Linked DNA regions of Homo sapiens: all the other regions are linked to region 3. Evidence: promoter capture Hi-C in 16 types of primary human blood cells and fetal thymus (Javierre and others, 2016). All regions are on one chromosome and are shown on one strand. The core of a region is centred on a gene start or on the middle of the fragment in contact, and the rest is flanking DNA. Distances in the headings are between cores, read along the strand shown.

Region 1 (3,204 bases), core at 580-3,079, 370 kb before region 3:
GGGGGAAGGAATTGAGGATGGATATGTTTCTGAGGCAGAACAGCCCCTACTGGGTAACTTCAAAAGCTCCTGCCTTGAACTGCTACAGAAATAACGTAGACTCAGAGATTATTTTGCTCCTGCGTATGCCAAGGGGACGGGAACAGGAGGGTGGAATACACCTAGTAAACAGATGCAAAGTGGAAAGGGGAGGGAGAAACTCACTACAGGTTTTTGAGGTGCTGGCTGGAGCCAGGAGCTGCTCCAAGATCTCTCATTCTTCTCAATAACCTTGGGCAATAGGGAATTTTCCACCTTGCAGGGGAAGACGCTGAGGTTCTGGGAAGAGAAATGGCTTGTCCAAGGTCACACAGCCAAGTCAGTGAAAGAACAGGGAGCCAGGATGTTTTGCACCTAAACCCTGGATTATGGTTTCCTCCCCACCTGCTCCCCCAAGATAAGTCCCCCAATCCCTTCCCATTGCCTTATTATACTGGGGATGAGGGTTGGGGTGGAGGAAAAAAGCAAATTTCACTCCAAAAGTCAGTGTTTTCGTTATCCATGAAAATAGATGGAAAAGCTGAACTGTGGCCCACAGGAAGAGGGGCCTGGGGGCCTGGCCTCCTGGGTCTGAGGGAGGAGGGGGCTGGGGGCCTGGACTCCTGGGTCTGAGGGAGGAGGGGCTGGGGGCCTGGACTCCTGGGTCTGAGGGAGGAGGGGCTGGGGGCCTGGACTCCAGGGTCTGAGGGAGGAGGGGCTGGGGGCCTGGACTCCAGGGTCTGAGGGAGGAGGGACTGGGGACCTGGACTCCTGGGTCTGAGGGAGGAGGGGCTGGGGGCCTGGACTCCTAGGTCTGAGGGAGGAGGAACTGGGGACCTGGACTCCTGGGCCTGAGGGAGGAGGGGCTGGGGACCTGGACTCCTGGCTCTGAGGGAGGAGGGGCTGGGGGCCTGGACTCCAGGGTCTGAGGGAGGAGGAGCTGGGGGCCTGGACTCCTGGGTCTGAGGGAGGAGGGGCTGGGGGCCTGGACTCCTGGGTCTGAGGGACGAGGGGCTGGGGGCCTGGGCTCCAGGGTCTGAGGGAGGAGGGGCTGGGGGCCTGGACTCCTGGGTCTGAGGGAGGAGGGGCTGGGGGCCTGGACTCCTGGGTCTGAGGGAGGAGGGGCTGGGGGCCTGGGCTCCAGGGTCTGAGGGAGGAGGGGCTGGGGGCCTGGACTCCTGGGTCTGAGGGAGGAGGGGCTGGGGGCCTGGACTCCTGGGTCTGAGGGAGGAGGGGCTGGGGGCCTGGGCTCCAGGGTCTGAGGGAGGAGGGGCTGGGGGCCTGGACTCCTGGGTCTGAGGGAGGAGGGGCTGGGGGCCTGGGCTCCAGGGTCTGAGAGAGGAGGGGCTGGGCCTGGACTCCTGGGTCTGAGGGAGGAGGGGCTGGGGGCCTGGACTCCTGGGCTGAGGGAGGAGGGGCTGGGGGCCTGGACTCCTGGGTCTGAGGGAGGAGGGGCTGGGGGCCTGGACTCCTGGGTCTGAGGGAGGAGGGGCTGGGGGCCTGGACTCCAGGGTCTGAGGGAGGAGGGGCTGGGGACCTGGGCTCCTGGGTCTGAGAGAGGAGGGACTGGGGCTAGTCTCCTAGGTCCATGGGAGGATGAGATTGGGACTTGAAGGAGGAGGGAGCTGGGTTTTAGGAAGTATCCCAGACTCCGTGTTCTGCGGATGTGGTGGAAAGACGTGGGGACGCCTGGGGCGGGAGGGGTAGGGGCCGGGCCGCAGTAACAAAGGCCTCTCCCTCCAACAAGCAACCCCCCCTTGACCCCGCCTCCCCGGCCCCCCACCTCTCCTGATTGGCCGGTCTCCCTGCCCGTCAGCGCCGCCCCCCTCCCCGGGTCTGCAGCAGCTCCAGCCGCCTCGTCGCGCCCCCCCAGCCCCCTCCCCCCGCCCCCGCCGCCCCCCGGGCCGGTGCAGCGCAGGCGGGGTCCCCCTCCCCCTCCCCCCTCTCCCCCCAGGCCTCGCGCGCCCCGGACCGGCCCCCCCTTTCCCCTCCCCCTCCGCGCCGCCTCTGCCGCGATGCCCCCCCCTGCGCCCGGGGCCCGGCTCCGGCTTCTCGCCGCCGCCGCCCTGGCCGGCTTGGCCGTCATCAGCCGAGGTACCGCAGCGCCGGGGGCGGGGGGCTCGGCCGGGACGCCAGGGTCTTGGGTGGGTAATCGGGGGATCAGGGGTGGGGGTCGAGGGCTGCATCCCTGGGCCGGCGCGGGGAGGCCCCGGGACGCCGGGGTCTGGGCCCGGGGGTGGGGTCTGCATTCCCTGGCTGGGCAGGGGGACCTCGGACGTGGGGGTCCGCGCCCCGGGGCAGGGGTCGGCGTCCTCGGGCCGGAGCCGGGTCTAGGGGCGGAGGTCTGCTTCCCCGAGCAGGCAAGAGGGTCGCAGACACCTAGCCCTGCCTGGGGGCAGGAGTCTGCGGCTCCTGTTGAGGAGGGGGCAGACACTGGACTCGGGGTCCCCGGGTCGGATCTCCGAACTGAGTTGGGGTGGGGGGCAGGGGATAATGCCCTGTTAGGGGTCTTCATCTGTACGTGGAGAGGGTCCCTGAAGAGGTCCTTGCCGGGGGCTGGGGTAGTCATCTCGGGACAGAGGTCAGGGGATGGATGCCTTCCCAGGGTCAGTAAGAGGAGGGGACAAGGGTGTCCACAGACCTAGTCCCAGGGTCAGGAAAAGAGGGGAAGGGTCTGAAATCCCCCAGCAGGGTCATCTAGGTTGAGAGAAAGTGTTGGTACTTGGGGAGGTTGCAGTTATGTGGGGGAGAAGGGAGCTGGAGATACAGGAAGTTGGGGTGCTGGGCTGGGGTCTTGGATTCCCAAGCTCTGATTGAATGTCTAGGTTCGTGGGGCTGGACAGTGGAAGAGCGATGGGCATGGGAGGATGAAGGAAAGACGGAAGGGAAGGGTTAAAGCAGGTTGAAGGGTTAACCCCGGCCCGGCCCGGCCCTCCCAGTTGGGGAGAGGGCCAGGGGCAGGTTTCTGCACTGAGGTTAGATAGCTGGACCTTGAGTCTCCCCAGTAGGGCCTGGCAGGCAGGGGGTGGTCAAGGAGATTCCTAGATTTCCCCCTAAGAAAAGGGAGGAGAGTGCAAGGAGGCAGGAGGCTGGAGGGTGGGCGCTCAGGAGGGCAGGGAGCTGGGTTAATTCAGACTTTCTGGAGGATTCCCCCAGGCCCTCCCCTGAACAAAGAGTTCCAGGGAC
Region 2 (2,798 bases), core at 148-2,647, 260 kb before region 3:
TCATCCCCTGAAGCCTTTTCATCTAAAGACAACTGGCCCAGCCCCAGCCCGACGGCCCTCAGTACCTGGCGTGTTGTCACGTGAAATGCTGATAACAAGGTCTCTGGGGGCATCTGCAACAAGATTGTGAGCTGGCTTCAGGGAGGGACAATTTATTCCTCACACCTGGAAAAAACTCCCTCAGGGAAAAGAAAGTGGGACTATCCCGGGAAGACAAGTGACAACCAGCGCCAGGGCTCACGTGTGTGGACCAGACGCCATTCCCATCCCCCTCCCAGGGCTGCGGCGGCATCCTGGGACCCCACAGCTTCCTCTCCCTGGATGCTCCTGAGCTGGGAGCCGCTCACTGTCCCACTGGGCTCCTCCACCTCCCCACCCACCGGGGCTGTCTGCACACCCCACCCTCCCAGGCCACACTCACAGGCCACACGGAGTCGGACGGTCCTCTGTGCGCTCACACCCTTTCTGGAGAAGTCCACATGGCAGGTGAGGTCGGTGTTGTGGTCCTGGGGTCTGGGCGTGAAGCTGAGCACTGAGAAGTGGGAGGTCGTTGGTTTGGTTCCTTGGGAGGAGAGGGCAGCCCCCGTCCAGGAGAAAGAAGGGGGTGGACATTCCTCAAAGGCCCAGTTAAACACACAGATGACCGTCACCGGCTGCCCGGGCTCCAGGGTCTCGGGGATGTAGACATCAGGCTTCTGAGTCAGGGCTGGGACAGAGACCGTGGTGGGAGATTCTTGTGCTGCAGGGGTCCCTGAGAGCCCTCTCTGCTCAGCCCATAGGCTGTCCCCAGGGTCCCTCCCCAGTGTGAGAGGCAGGGGTTCCCACCCCATTCCATACCTGTTACTTTTAGAAAGAACCCATCGTTCATGAAATTATATCTCACATAGCTTCCTCTCTCCACCCGAAAGAAGTACTGTGACTCATCCTGCATCTGCGCGTCTCTGATCACCAAGGAGCAGTTCCCCTTGGCGGGATCCCCAGTGAGCTGGAATCGGCCCCGGGTGCTCATTTCCACCTCTCGACTCTGGTGGTTTGTGGCCACAGGAGCACCCTTGGTTGTCTCAGTCACTGCTTTGAACCAGTAGCCATAAGCTGGGGTAGACCCTGTCCAGTCCTGTCGGGGGTAGGAGAAAGAGCAGGGCACAGAGATGCACAGGCCCTCCGGCACCATCACTGACTCCTGCACTCGTATCCAGAATCTCCCATCCATAGCCTGGGACCCTGTGGGGAGACAGAGGCTCAACCTGCAACCCCAGCCCTAGCTCCGCCCCAGGTCCTTTCCGGCCCTTGGCCCACTCACCGCCCAGCAGCGAGGACAGCAGCAGTGGCAGTAGCATCTCCGCATAGGAGGCGCAGGGCCTGCCTGAGACAGGCCTGTTCTCTGGTCGTGCTGTGAGTGGCTCAGGGCTCTTGGCAGAAGGGGAAGCCGAAGGCGGAAGCTGAGCCCTGGGGCCTGATGCATGAAATGAGCTTCAGACGCTGAGCTCACAGAACTCCTTTGCCTTCCCCCACACTCTCCGGCCCACCTTGCCCAGTTGTCCTCTGGGTCTCCTGGGGGCCCAGCCTGGCCTTGGGCTTGTTGAGCTGGTCCTTCCAGAGCTCCCTGTGTAGGAGGAGAGGGCAGGCTTGTGTCTATCCTGGGGGCCTGGCTGGGGGTGGGGTAGTGGGGTGGGGGCTCTCCCTCTGGGCCCTGGGTCATCGGAAAAGCAGAAGTGAGAAGTCCACAGTGAGCTACCCTTATCTGGGCCACTGGTGGTGGAGGTGGTGGGTACAGGGGAAGGGACCGTTACTGGAGGGGGCTGGTCTTGTCAGGTAAAATGCAGGATGCCTGGTTAAAGCTTTCACAGACAATATAAAGTATTTTATTTTATGTTTTTTGGTATAAGTATGTCCGAAATGCTGCATGGGATATACTTATACCAGAAAGCAAAATAAATTTATCTGAAATTCAAATTAATTAATTAATTAATTATATTTTGAGACAGAGTCTCACTCTGTCACCCAGGCTGCAGTGCAGTGGTGCAATCTCTGCTTACTGCAACCTCCACCTCCCAGGCTGAAGTGATTCTCCTGCCTCAGCCTCCTGAGTCTGGGCTTACAGGCACGCGCCACCACGCCAAGCTAATTTTTGTATTTTTAGTAGAGGTGGGGTTTCACCATGTTGGCAGGGCTGGTTTTGAACTCCTGACCTCAAATGATCCACCTGCCTTGACCTCCCAAAGTGCTGAGATTACAGGTGTGAACCACCGCACCTGGCCTAAAATTCAAATTTAACTGAGCATGTTGAATTTCTTTTTTTCTAAATCTGGCCACCGTAGGGTGGTGTCAGCTCCACCTCTTCATGCTTCCTGGTGAGCTCACTGACCCTTGGTCCCCAGAAGCAGTCTCCTGCCCCAACCAGGCCCTAGTCCACTTCCCAGTCTCCCTTCCTCCTCTGTCATTCAATTGGGACACCCATTGGGATTAGAACACATATGTCCAAAGCTAATGCTGATGGGAAGAGTTTGAGGAAGGCGGGAGTGAGGGGCAGAGTGGGGGGAACAGACTAGGGAAGGGGTAATTTGCAATGAATGGAGTAAACTCTACAAGATGTTTTCCCCTCACTGAGCTCTTCCTGAAATGACTCTGTTTGGGTCACACCGAAACACAGAACTCATCCTTCAACCTCCACATACCTTGGGTATCAAGCACTGAGCTTTAGGGGGACTTGGAGGTGAATCCTCCATGGTGAGTCAGCTCCAGGGCCCCAGGTTAGCAAATGAAGATTCTTAGAAACAAAGTACAGAAGGTCCCCTAAA
Region 3 (2,820 bases), core at 124-2,623:
ATCACACACCTATGCAATTTTTTGCTTCCTAAATTTGCAACTTTGGAGTGGGTGGCTTTGCGAGTCCTAGTGTTTCAAGGAGAAACACTTCCACTAAAGGACCCAGTTATGGTTTCAAGTGGAAGGAGAGGCTGCCTCTTGGCCATTTTGGGCAAGTCATGATGCTAAACCATCAGGCAGAGAAGGAGGTACCTTTACTAAGCTAGTAAAGGTACCAATTGATCCAATTATTAGGAGAAAAATATGTTGTTGCTATACAGTGCAATCAAGGAGAATTAGGAGTGGAACCGAGACTATTCCGTCGGGAGGCTTTTTATACTCTGTCCAGAATAATGGTCAATGGATAACTGCAGCAGTGCAATAAAGACGAAGCATTAATGACTTGGATCCTTTGGGTCACTCTACCAGATAAAAAATTCCAAGGAAACGAAGTGCTAGAGGAAGGTAAGAGAGACACAAAATGGTTATCAATTTAGGCTTTATGACCAGCTATAGAAGCAGGAACTGCAGCTATTATGTTTTATGGTAACTAATTGTTTCTTTCCCACTTCAATTTCACTCTGATATCTTACATGAAGAGCACTTTTCATGGCTGTTGTTACAATTTCAGTTTCAGAAGTATAGCAGGAATGACTTCCCTCTGCAGTAATAGTAGAACTAATACTGGGCATCTCTGTGTTAAGGATGTGAGCTTGTTCATCCAAACAAAAGAACGTAATGGGTGCTCAGTGACAACAGGGATGACCTGTGCCTCTTCAGATCCATCATTCACTTGTCTCTGCTCATTTCTGTGCACTGACAGGCTGACCTCTCAGGACCGCATCATCAGCTTCCCCTTGCCAGTGGGAGGCACTGTCCGGAGATTGAAGGGTGGGAGGAAAGAAGTCAGGGTTTTTATTCCTCCTGTTCTCTCCCTACAGTTCTGGCCGTGGCTGCATTCCTCTGTGCTACAAGTCCTATAAGGCAGCCCATCCTCCAAGGCTACTGCCCTTGCCCCATCAGGTCTAGGCTGGTACCCGTTTCCCACTGCTGCTTGTCCTTGGATGCTGCACCATCTCTTTTTGGACCTCTTAATCCTGCCTACATCTCTATTTAGTCCCTTCATTGGCCTATGTTTATTATTTATTTATTCATTTATTTATTTATTTTGAGACGGAGTCTTGCTCTGTCACCCAGGCTGGAGTGCAGTGACGCGATCTCGACTCACTGCAACCTCCATCTCCCGGGTTCAAGCAATTCTCCTGCCTCAGCCTCCTGAGTAGCTGGGACTACAGGCGTAAGCCACCGCTCCTGGCCACTTTTTGTATTTTTAGTAGAGACAGAGTTTCACCATGTTGGCCAGGCTGGTCTGGAACTCCTGATCTCAAGTGATCCGCCTGCCTTGGCCTCCCAAAGTGCTAGGATTACAGACGTGAGCCACCGTGTCCGGCCAAGTCTATGTTTAATTAAGCTCTTGAATGAGCCATCAGCTTCCTATTCGAATCCTGATGGATACATCCATATATTTACCACCTGTTTCCTCCTCGTACCTCAGACCTTCTACCTGGGATCATTTTCATTCTATGATCAAAGTACATCCATGAAGGAGGGTTTCAGTTTGCTTTTACCATATGCCATAGTACCAGTTTGGTGCCACTTTTACTTTTGTTCCTTTCCTCTCAGGAGACTGTTGAAAACTACAGCTCATTTTTATAATCAGAATAAGCCTATGCTCATCAGTCAAAAGCAGGTTTGAATGCTCTGCTTAGTTCTTGGAGTTCTCACTTTCTAAATTTTAGCTAGGAAATTCCTCACTAGATTGTCTTTCCATTATTTTATAAAGATTGTTTTGAGTATTTTATCCGCCACTTTTAATGACTTTCAGCAGAGGAGTTGATCCATATAGCCTGGACTGCCATTCTCAAAAATGAGAAAGTTCTCCCCTCTCTTAGGTTTTTTTGTTTTCCCATAAGATTTTTGCATTTGCTTGCTATTTCACGTAGGCTGTTGGGAAGAATGTCTCCTGAAATCTTGGATGAGAAATATGACAATAGAGAAAGACAATTCACTTTCAAGATATCAAAATACTATTCATATAACAGAAAAACAAAAAAGTATTAATATTAGCCATCTATTGTTACCTAGGGAATTATTCCAAAACTGAGCATCTTGATACACACTTATCTTACAGTTTCTGTGGTCAGGAATCTGAGCACAGCTTAGCTTGGTCCTTGGCTTACGGTTTCTCACTAGGTTGAAATCAAGATGTTGACTCAGGGTCTTCATCCTCATCTGAAGGCTCTACTGGGGAATGACCCACTTCCAAGTTTATTCATTGGCTTTTGGCAACATGCAGTTCCTCACAGGGTATTGGAATGAGAGCCTCAGTTCCTTTCTAGCTGTTGGCAGGGGCTTCCCTCAGTTCCTTACCTCATGAGTCTTTCAAAAATGGCAGCTCAGAATATAGCCACTTACTTGATTAATACATGAAAATCAGAAAGGCAGTAGAGTTTGCTAGCAAGACAGAAGTCACACAGTTTTTTGTAATCTAATATTGGAAATGACATTCCATCACTTTTGCCATATACCATTAGTTATAAGTAAGTCACTAAGTTCATCCTTTGGGGAGGAGGTTACACAAACACATGAATATCAGGAAGTGGAGATCATTGGGAGATATTTTAGAAGGCTGACAACCCCGCAAAAATAATTTCTGAATTTCCATCTGTATCTCAGCATTCAATAGCTATGCACCTGTTTCAGCACATTGGCAGGAGCAAAACAATAGCAAAGTGTTTACAGCATGTATCGTGTGAAATACATCCACTCTCAAAGCACCTT

What was found. The method cuts DNA at HindIII sites, captures the fragments that hold promoters and counts their contacts. A CHiCAGO score of 5 or more calls a contact.
Region 1: a contact is called between the fragment with the promoter of IGLON5 here and a fragment that was not itself captured in region 3, in 1 of 17 cell types (naive B cells). The highest score is 5.7, in naive B cells.
Region 2: the fragment with the promoter of SIGLEC10 here is called in contact with a fragment that was not itself captured in region 3 in 4 of 17 cell types (erythroblasts, megakaryocytes, endothelial precursors and 1 more); the score reaches 7.6 in erythroblasts.

The regions. Positions count from the first base shown.
Region 1 is chr19:51,309,815-51,313,018 of GRCh38, forward strand. IGLON5 (IgLON family member 5) reads left to right here and starts at 1,830. Exons shown (of 8, transcript NM_001101372.3): 1 at 1,830-2,112. The coding sequence starts at 2,034. The HindIII fragment of the contact is 5,776 bases long and covers 1-3,204 here.
Region 2 is chr19:51,416,245-51,419,042 of GRCh38, forward strand. It overlaps SIGLEC10 (sialic acid binding Ig like lectin 10), which reads right to left and starts at 1,398. Exons shown (of 11, transcript NM_033130.5): 1 at 1,301-1,398; 2 at 838-1,221; 3 at 422-706; 4 at 66-113. The coding sequence starts at 1,337. It overlaps SIGLEC10-AS1 (SIGLEC10 antisense RNA 1), which reads left to right. Exons shown (of 3, transcript NR_164125.1): 2 at 185-486; 3 at 888-1,953. RefSeq lists enhancers at 1,328-1,497, 1,558-1,627. The HindIII fragment of the contact is 3,908 bases long and covers 1-1,836 here.
Region 3 is chr19:51,677,113-51,679,932 of GRCh38, forward strand. No RefSeq gene overlaps it. Among named protein-coding and RNA genes, the nearest start is that of MIR99B, 14 kb to the right of the region's middle. The HindIII fragment of the contact is 6,463 bases long and covers 1-2,820 here.